Regions from separate parts of the Homo sapiens genome. Here all the other regions are linked to region 1. The links are contacts of gene promoters, found by promoter capture Hi-C in human tissues and cell types (Jung and others, 2019). All regions are on one chromosome and are shown on one strand. The core of a region is centred on a gene start or on the middle of the fragment in contact, and the rest is flanking DNA. Distances in the headings are between cores, read along the strand shown. Region 1 holds the start of CARS2 (cysteinyl-tRNA synthetase 2, mitochondrial). Region 2 has its middle 62 kb from the start of LINC00431. Region 3 holds the start of LOC124903213 (a long non-coding RNA gene).

The links. The method cuts DNA at HindIII sites, captures the fragments that hold promoters and counts their contacts. A contact is called where the count stands out against the background at its distance.
Region 2: a contact is called between a fragment that was not itself captured here and the fragment with the promoter of CARS2 in region 1, in 1 of the 25 tissues and cell types used here (dorsolateral prefrontal cortex).
Region 3: a contact is called between a fragment that was not itself captured here and the fragment with the promoter of CARS2 in region 1, in 1 of the 25 tissues and cell types used here (heart right ventricle).

What each region holds. Positions count from the first base shown.
Region 1 is chr13:110,704,596-110,707,518 of GRCh38, reverse strand. CARS2 (cysteinyl-tRNA synthetase 2, mitochondrial) reads left to right here and starts at 1,403. Exons shown (of 15, transcript NM_024537.4): 1 at 1,403-1,649; 2 at 1,948-1,998. The coding sequence starts at 1,426. RefSeq lists enhancers at 476-595, 606-985 and a silencer at 1,036-1,595. The HindIII fragment of the contact is 14,015 bases long and covers 1-2,923 here.
Region 2 is chr13:111,026,829-111,029,751 of GRCh38, reverse strand. No RefSeq gene overlaps it. Among named protein-coding and RNA genes, the nearest start is that of LINC00431, 62 kb to the right of the region's middle. The HindIII fragment of the contact is 3,515 bases long and covers 1-2,923 here.
Region 3 is chr13:110,973,905-110,976,827 of GRCh38, reverse strand. All of the region lies in intron 1 of LINC00431 (long intergenic non-protein coding RNA 431), which reads right to left. It overlaps LOC124903213 (a long non-coding RNA gene), which reads right to left and starts at 617. Exons shown (of 2, transcript XR_007063875.1): 1 at 196-617. The HindIII fragment of the contact is 4,834 bases long and covers 1-2,923 here.

The DNA of each region.
Region 1 (2,923 bases), core at 154-2,653:
CACGCCACCACGCCCGGCTAATTTGTGTATTTTTAGTAGAGACGGGGTTTCACCATATTGGTCAGGCTGGTCTCGAACTCCTGACCTCAGGTGATCCATCCGCCTCAGCCTCCCAAAGTGCTGGGATTACAGGTGTGAGCCACTGCGCCTGGCCCAATAGAGGCACGTTTGTCAAGCTATTGTGAGTAACTTTCAGAATGTTTTTGTTCTCAAGATACGGGATCATGGTGGGGGAGGCATGCTGTGTATTGGAGTGCAGACATGGTGTGTGTTGGGTTGCACACTGTGTATTGGGGTGCACACTGTATTGGGGTGTAGATGTGTGGGGGCGCACACTCTATTGAGGTGCACATTGCATTGGAATGCAGACAGTGTTTGCTGGGATGCACATGTGCTGTGTTGGGGTGCACACTGTACTGGGGTGCAGACATGGTGTGTGTTAGAGTGCACAGTGTATTAGGGGTGCACACTGTATTGGGGTGTACACTGTACTGGGGTGCAGACATGGTGTGTGCTGGGGTGCACACTGTATTGGAGTGCACACTGTATTGGGATGCTGATGTGGTGTGTGCTAGGGTGCATACTGTGTATTGGGGTGCAGACTGTATGCTGGGTTGCACACTGTGTATCGGGGTGCACTGTGTTGGGATGCTGATGGTGTGCTGCAGTGCACACTATTGGGGTGCAGATGTGTGTGCTGGGGTGCACACTGTATTGGGGTGCACACTGTATTGGGATGCTGATGTGTGTGCTGGGGTGCATACTGTGTATTGGGGTGCACACTTCTTGGGGTGCAGACTGTGTGTTGGGTTGCACATTGTGTATCGGGGTGCACTGTGTTGGGATGCTAACGGTGTGCTGCAGTGCACACTGTATTGGGGCGCAGATGTGTGTTTGGGGTGCACACTGTATTGGGGTGCACACTGTATTGGGGTGCTGACGTGTGTTCTGGGGTGGACACTGTGTATTAGCGTGCTGACGTGGGCTGTGCTGGGATGCACACGTGCTTCGCTAACAGGCCAGGGCCCGGCAACAGAAGCTTGCACTGTAAACGCTCCTCCCGCGCGGCGGACACAGCTCCAGGCTGGTACCGCGCGCACACGGACGCCTCGCAGGACCTGGGCTAATAAGGAGAGGAGATCGGCACGGTACCGCCTCTTCCCACGGCCTCCCGGCGCGGCACCGCCCTCCTCCCTCCACCCCGGGCCTTCCCCGCCCCAACCTCTTCGGGCCCTGGTTCTCCACCCTTGCCGCGGGCGACTCGAGCCAGGCCAAAGGGAGGCGCTACCTGAGGACTGCTTCCGGGAGTGGGCGTGGCCCCAAGGGCGTGGGCGGGGCGGGGCGGGGCCGTGCTGCTCTTGAGCGACCGGCAGCGTACCCGGCGTGGCTCCCGTCTCCGCCCAGTCGTAGGCGCTGGCCGCTGACATGTTGAGGACTACGCGCGGCCCAGGCCTGGGCCCCCCGCTGCTCCAGGCCGCGCTGGGCCTTGGGCGGGCTGGGTGGCACTGGCCTGCGGGCCGGGCGGCGAGCGGGGGGCGCGGGCGGGCCTGGCTGCAGCCCACGGGCCGGGAGACGGGTGTGCAGGTGTACAACAGCCTCACCGGGAGGAAGGAACCCCTAATCGTGGCGCACGCCGAAGCCGCCTCCTGGTGGGCCGCGCGGGACTGGGGCACGGGCGGGGGCCGATCGTGGCGGAGACTTCCCACGGCTGAACGGGATCTGGGCTCGGGGAGGGCGTTTAGGAAGCTGCATGGAGGGCGCCGTTCTAGAAGCTGGGGGTGCGCGGTGCTTTTGCAGGTTTGGGTGTGAATTGAGCAAGTATGAAAACCCCGGCTATTCATCCCCCAGAAGTGATTACTTTAAAAATTATATGATCATTATAACTCAGAATCGAATGTCCTTTCTTGCAAATATGTTCCACACGATGGATTTTAACTTTGTTTCCAGGTATAGCTGTGGACCAACTGTATATGATCATGCGCACCTTGGCCATGCTTGGTGAGTTTCCTGGATTTGAATTTTCATACTTCAAAGGACCATTTATTTTTGAAAGCCTTTTGCTGATTTCTTTTATCTCTTAAGTGGCAACTTAGGGATGCAGAATAATTCCTACATTCCAGGCATTGTGGGAAATGTTACAACCTCATTTGGTTCTTATAGGGATTCTGAGCACTTACACCCGTTTTACAGGTGAGGAAACTCAGGGAGACAATGGAGCACTGAAAAATGACCCGTTTTGGAACTAGATGTTTTTTGCTGGGTTTAGTGACATCAAGAGGCCTTTGCGGGGTCCCGGGGTCCTGCTGATCAGTCATTCCTGGGCCCCACCACTTCTTAGCTTCACAGCACTGAGCAGGTCACTTTATTGCTTTGAGTCCTGGTTTCTTCATCTTTGAGATGGGAATGATAACTTGGATCTTATAACAATTTTAGTAAATAATGCCCATAAAATGCTGCTTAACACTGTACCTCACATGTGAGATGTCACGGGGCTCAATAGTGATTGAGTAACTTTCCTAAGATGACACATTGAAGAGGTATTGGAACTGGGGTGAGGCTTGGTTTCTCTGACTGCGAAGTGGTTGCTCTCTTGACCTCTTTAACTGTAAGATGTACTGCCTCCTACATTTGCCAAAATTACCACTTTTCCTAATATTTTGTACATTTCCAAAATATAATGTACAAAAATGACATATTATAGATTTTTTAAAACTTAGTATTGTTCAGTCCTAGACTAAAAGTAAAAAGTTACATTTACTCTGTATACTTTTTTTTTTTCTTGAGACGGAGTCGCTCTGTCGCCCAGGCTGGAGTGCAGTGGTGCAATCTCGGCTCACTGCAACCTCTGCCTCCCAGGTCCAGTTGCCGCCTCCTGGCAGCAATTCTCCTGCCTCAGCCTCCGGAGTAGCTGGGATTACAGGCA
Region 2 (2,923 bases), core at 145-2,644, 320 kb before region 1:
TGGCGTGTATCTGGAAATGCATCCCCATCGGAGTCCGACCCTGAGCCTGCGTGTTCACGGACCATCCTTTTGACCCTTGTGGCACACTGTATAATTTAGCAATGGGCGCAACAGTCATATCTGTTTTACAATGTCGTGCTTTTCCTTCTGCTTCGTGTCCCCCAAACCAGATTCTAAGTAATACGCGCCTGTACTTTTTAGTAGCCTTTTCCACGTTCCATGGAGAACTGACCTGTCTTGGGTCTTTCAGAACCTTCCACAGAAGAACTGTTCTGGGGGCTGTCCCTGCAGCAGAGAGAAGAGTGTGGTGGGGGGAAGGAGTCCACTTCCCTTGGACACACGCTCCCAGGTGGTCTCCTGGATGCTACCACCTCGGCACCCCCGAGCTGCTGAGCCCAGTCTCCCGACCCTGCCCGGCATCTCTATGGCACGTGAGTGCTCCACACTGCAGCTCACAGGCACCCAATCATCTCCCCATTTTCTCCACCCAAACACCCCCTCCTGCGCACTCTATTTAGAAAGTGAATATCCGTTGCACATTTCAGCCGGTCACTTGGAATTCATCTTAAATGGCTTTTTCCTTGCAATGTTTACACCCACTAGATCACCAAGTCCTGCGAATTTTGCTTCTTAAATTTCTTTCTTCCTTTCCTCCTTCCTTCCTTCCTTTCTTCCTTCCTTCCTCCCTCCCTCCCTCTCTCTCTTTCTTTCTCTCTCTTTCTCTCTCTCTTTTTTGACGGAGTCTCATTCTGTCACCAGGCTGGAGTGCAGTGGTGCAATCTCGGCTACTACAACCTCCGCCTCCCAGATTCAAGCGATTTTCCTCCCTCAGCCTCCCAAGTAACTGGGACTACAGGCGCGCACCACCATGCCCAGCTAATTTTTGTATTTTTAGTAGAGACAGGGTTTCACCATGTTGACCAGGATGGTCTCGATCTCTTGACTTTGTGATCCGCCTTCCTGGGCCTCCCAAAGTGCTGGGATTACAGGCATGAGCCACCGCGCCCAGCCTGCTTCTTAAATTTCTCCCAAATCTCTCCCCTCCTGTCCAGCCTATTACACAGCCTTAGCTCAGTGCCTGCTGGCTTTTCTCCTGGCTCTCCAGCATGCTGGCCTGACTATACCTCTGCAGGGCCTCTGTGGGGATCTTCCAAAAGAGGACGCTGCCAGGCTTCCTCATCATCCAGATAAAGCACAGACTCTTCTCAAGCTGCCCTCAACCAGCCTCAGAGGGCACACAGGGCCTCGGAGGCATCAGCAAGGGCCACCCTTGCTCTTGGCCCTGGGACTAAAGCCACATGCTGCCTTAGGAGTCTGAGACCTGAACTTTTTCTCTTTATTCAAAATTCCTTCCTAAGGGGCCTGGAGGAGTCATCTCTGCAGACTGTCAATCTTGCTAAACAGGTCATTTTCTTCCAGTGTCTTGTGGTTTGCACTTGCAACCTGGCTCCAGCGTAGTACCCCATGATGATGAGCAGAAGTCCTGATCTCAACTTAAATATGCCTTTCTGCTGACTCCGAGTTTTCAGAGAAAGCTTTGTTCTTTTAATCAACTGCACATCAAAGAATCTTTAATCCCGCCTATGATCTGTAAGCCGCCACTTCAAGATATCTCACCTTTTTGTGCCAAGCCAAAGTATAACCTCCAGGTATTGATTCATGACTTTGCCTGTACCTCCTGCCTCCCTGAAATGTATGAGTTGCATACCGACTGCCTCGAAACCACCCACTCAGGGCTTCTTGGGTTTGTGTTTTCCCCAGGCTGCGGTCACTCATGTTGGCTCAGAATAAACCTCTTTGACATATTTTATGGAGTTTTGGTATTTTTCCACTTGAAGATGCAGTTCCTAACTCTCTAGCACCTCTCCTCGGTGCATTTTGTGTTACAGTATTGAGCAAGATTTCAGAATCAAAGCAGTATACATAGAGTAAATGAGCTGGTGTGTGTACATGTCATGCGAGTGGCACGCATAACGTGAAAAGATTAAAGTACTGCCATCCTTGTAAGTACTCAGCGAGCATTAACTATCATCATTCTTCTACCAGCACAAAGGTTTATATGTAACTTGAGGCCACATCGTGGATCCCATGGGTATGAACAAAGGAATCCTTTCACATGACCCCAACACTCTTGTTTTGGGCAGGGATTTTTCAGTTACACATCTCAACCGGCAAAGATGTGTGAGAGACTCAGTACGTCAAAGGCCTCTGGGAACGCCTGCCTGACAGTGACCTTGAGACCACCCTTGCATCAAGGTCATTCCCACACAACAGCCTGTAAAAATCTTTTGATATTTGCATTGCAATTTCAGCTATCTAAGCATCATTTTAGAGAGAATTAACTCCTTTATGACATCATCTTCCCAATTTAGCATCTCCCTCCATTTATTTAGAATTTCTTTATTTCTCGCAGTAATGCTGTTTCTGCACAGAACCTTTGCACACCTCCTGTTAAATACATTTGACAGCTGATGTTTTTACTCATGTTTCTGTTTGTTACTCGTGTACAGAAGCACAACTGCTGTTTTTTTAAAAACATTGACCCTATAGCCGGGCATTGTGGCATGCGTCTGTAGTCCCATCTACTCCAGAAGCTGAGGTAAGAGGATTGCTTGAGCCCTGGAGGTCAAGGCTGCAGTGAGCTCTGATCATGCCATTGCACTCCAGCCTGGGTGACAGAATGAGACCCCGTCTTAAAAAAAAATGTTGACCCTGCACCCATAAACTAGTTAAACTCACTTATTAATTCTAATTATATTTGAAATCTTTTAAGCTTTCTACATATAAAATCATAACATCCACTAATAGAAATGTCTTATTTTTTCCCTACCCAATCTTTCTTATTTCTATGCCATACTGCACCAGCGAGGACCTCCAGTAAAAGGTGAACATATGTGGGTAGGTGAGCATTCTTGTTTGTTCC
Region 3 (2,923 bases), core at 286-2,785, 270 kb before region 1:
TGTTGATTCTCAATTGCCTTCAGCTCAAAACAATCCTTATGCCAAGGAGGGTTTTTTTGGAGTGGCATGTTCTGGACCCCTCAGCACATTTCCACTCATGCCTGAAACTCTAGGTTCTTTATCCCTAAATGATTGCATTGGCCCGTTTTTGGCATGAGTTTGATTTTGGAATAAAATTAGTTCTTAGCTCCTCACTAAAGTGAAATTGTATGGCTCTTCCTCCCCATTTGCTTAATAGTTTCTTCACCACAAAGCTTCAGTTCAGTGACCATGTCAGCCATCTTCAAGAGGTGAAATTAGATGTACCTAGTAAAAATCAATAGAAACAAAATCAAAAGTAAAAGACCAGTGTCTTAGTCTGTTTTTGCTGCTGTAATAGAATACTATAGACTAGGTAATTTATAAAGAAGAGAGATTTGTGTGTCTCAGGGTCCTGTAGGCTGGAAGGTCCAAGACTGTACGGCCACAGGTGGTGAGGGCCTTCTTGCTACATCCTAACATGGCAGAAGGCATCACATGGTGAGGCAGGTGCAAGACACAGAGAGAAAGGGGGCTGAATTCCCGAGATAACAAACTTACTCCTATGATAATGGCATTAACTTATTCAGGAAGGCAGAGCCCTCATGACCTAATTAACTCTTAAAGGTCCCATCTCTTAATACCATCACAAAGACAATTAAACTTTAACATGAGTTTTGGAGAGGACATTCAAATCATAGCAGCCAGATTATTTTTACAGACCTCTTTGTGTAAGACAAGTTTGCACTGAAATCCTGGACTACCTGGAGGCTCCAGAACAGCTCTGCATTTCAGTCTCAGGTACACAAAGGCAATGAAGCAAATTTCATAAGCAGAGATCAATGATGAGACCTATTAAAATGGAGTCATTTGGTCTATTCACTCCAAGAGCTACTGGATTTTCAAAAATAGAAAATTCCAAATTGGTTGTTAAATGTTCAATTTCAAATTGAAAAAAATTCTGCATTTGCAATTATGTCTCAGTTACCTCTCATTGCTTCCAGTTATCATATTAATTCATTTCAATGTGATTTTAATGCATTGCTTTCTCAATTAGCCAGTAAGATGTGTAAGGAAGAATTGGGTAACATAAGGAATGTTTCTCAAAAGATATTAGATGTTTTGTATCTAGCTCTGATGATTGCTCTCTTAGTACTTAATTAGTACTTAATTCTCTTGAAGCTGTTCTTTTTTTCTTTTTAAATTTTAAGCTGCATCACAATGTTTTGTGTATTATATTCAGTTTTGTCAAAACTATTTGTTAACATTTTTATTTAATTTCTTATTTTTATTTAACAAGAAGGGGCCAATACAAAGCAAAGCCCAGAAAAATCAAATTGAGTTCAGTTAACACACTAGTACTGATTTGTCTGGGCAAGTCATGGCTTTCTTAAAGAGCTCTGCAACTTCATGTAACTTGTTTTAAAACTGAGTGTATGAGTCCATTTTCATGCTACTGATAAAGACATACCAGAGCTGGGTAATTTATACACAAAAAGAGGTTTAATGGACTCACAGTTCCATGTGGCTTGGGAGGCCTCACAATGATGGTGGAAGGCAAGGAGGAGCAAGTCCTGTCTTACATGGCTGGTGACAGGCAAAGAGAGAGAGCTCATGCAGGGAAACGCCCCTTTATAAAACCATTAGATCTCATGAGACTTATTCACTACCACAAGAACAGCATGGGAAAGACCTGCCCCCATGATTCGATTACCTCCCACTGAGTCCCTCCCACAACACGTGGGAATTCAATATGAGATTTTGGTGGGGACACAGCCAAACCGTATCAATGAGCTTCTAAACTCATTAACTGTTGAAAATAAAAGGGAGATGTCAAAGGCTTTTGTTTTATTGCATATAGAAATTTAAAATTAATCCGATTTCCTGTAACAGCAACATAGTAACCTGATCTCAGAAAACATATTCTATGAGAAGACAAGGAAAATAAATGAATGAACAAAGGAATGAAGTATGTATGAATGTATGAATGTTTAGATGGACACAGAAAACTTTTAGGAGATTTTCTTACTCAGGCAAATCTTCCACTGTTGCTTCCCCAGAATAGAGAGCACTCCCTATTTTGCTCTCTTCATTTTTGTTGCCAACACTTAGAATTACTAGTAGAGAGATCTCTGACCATTGAGGTCAAGGTTGATGAGTCCAAGAAGATGTCATGCACTGAAGTGGCCTTGGTCTGGTCAGCAGCAGGTCTTCCTAGATACCATTTGTGGATTCTCCCTAGGCAGGAAGGACCATTGGCCACAACCCTGCTGTGGCACTCCATGATGGATCTAGGTCCTTCTGTCTTTTAAAACAGCAACATAATGTCTCCAGGATTAATCTGAAAAGCACTAGAACTTTGTGATTCTGACACAGTTAATCACTCCCAGTATCTCTATTCAATATTTTCTAAAGATAAAAGTTAAAAAAGACAATTATACAGATTACAGAGACCAGAGTAAGAAAGGCTTGGAGAAAAAAGAGAAACTTAGAGTGCCAACAACAATATAACATAAACAGACCAGCAAATAATAATGCAATTTCCCAGCTAATAGGATTGCTTAACAGCTGAATACAATCACACTCCTGATTAAACAGTAACAACATACACTTATGAAGAAAGACTGTAAGTTGTAATATGTCTTTTCAAGAAGCAGCATATTAACCACTGTTTATACTTCTCTAATTACATTCCTTTAAGTTTTTCATTTAGAAAACAGTTTACATTTTAATATCCAGCATCACTTCTGTTTTTAAAACAATTGGTCACATTTATATTGCCAAATTAAGGATATACAGGATATTTTCATAAGAAAAAAACAAGTGCAGGTGTGCTTTGAAAATGACCTTTAACTGAGGAGTCTGGTTACATAAAGATGAACGGTCTAATGATCTCATCTCCTCC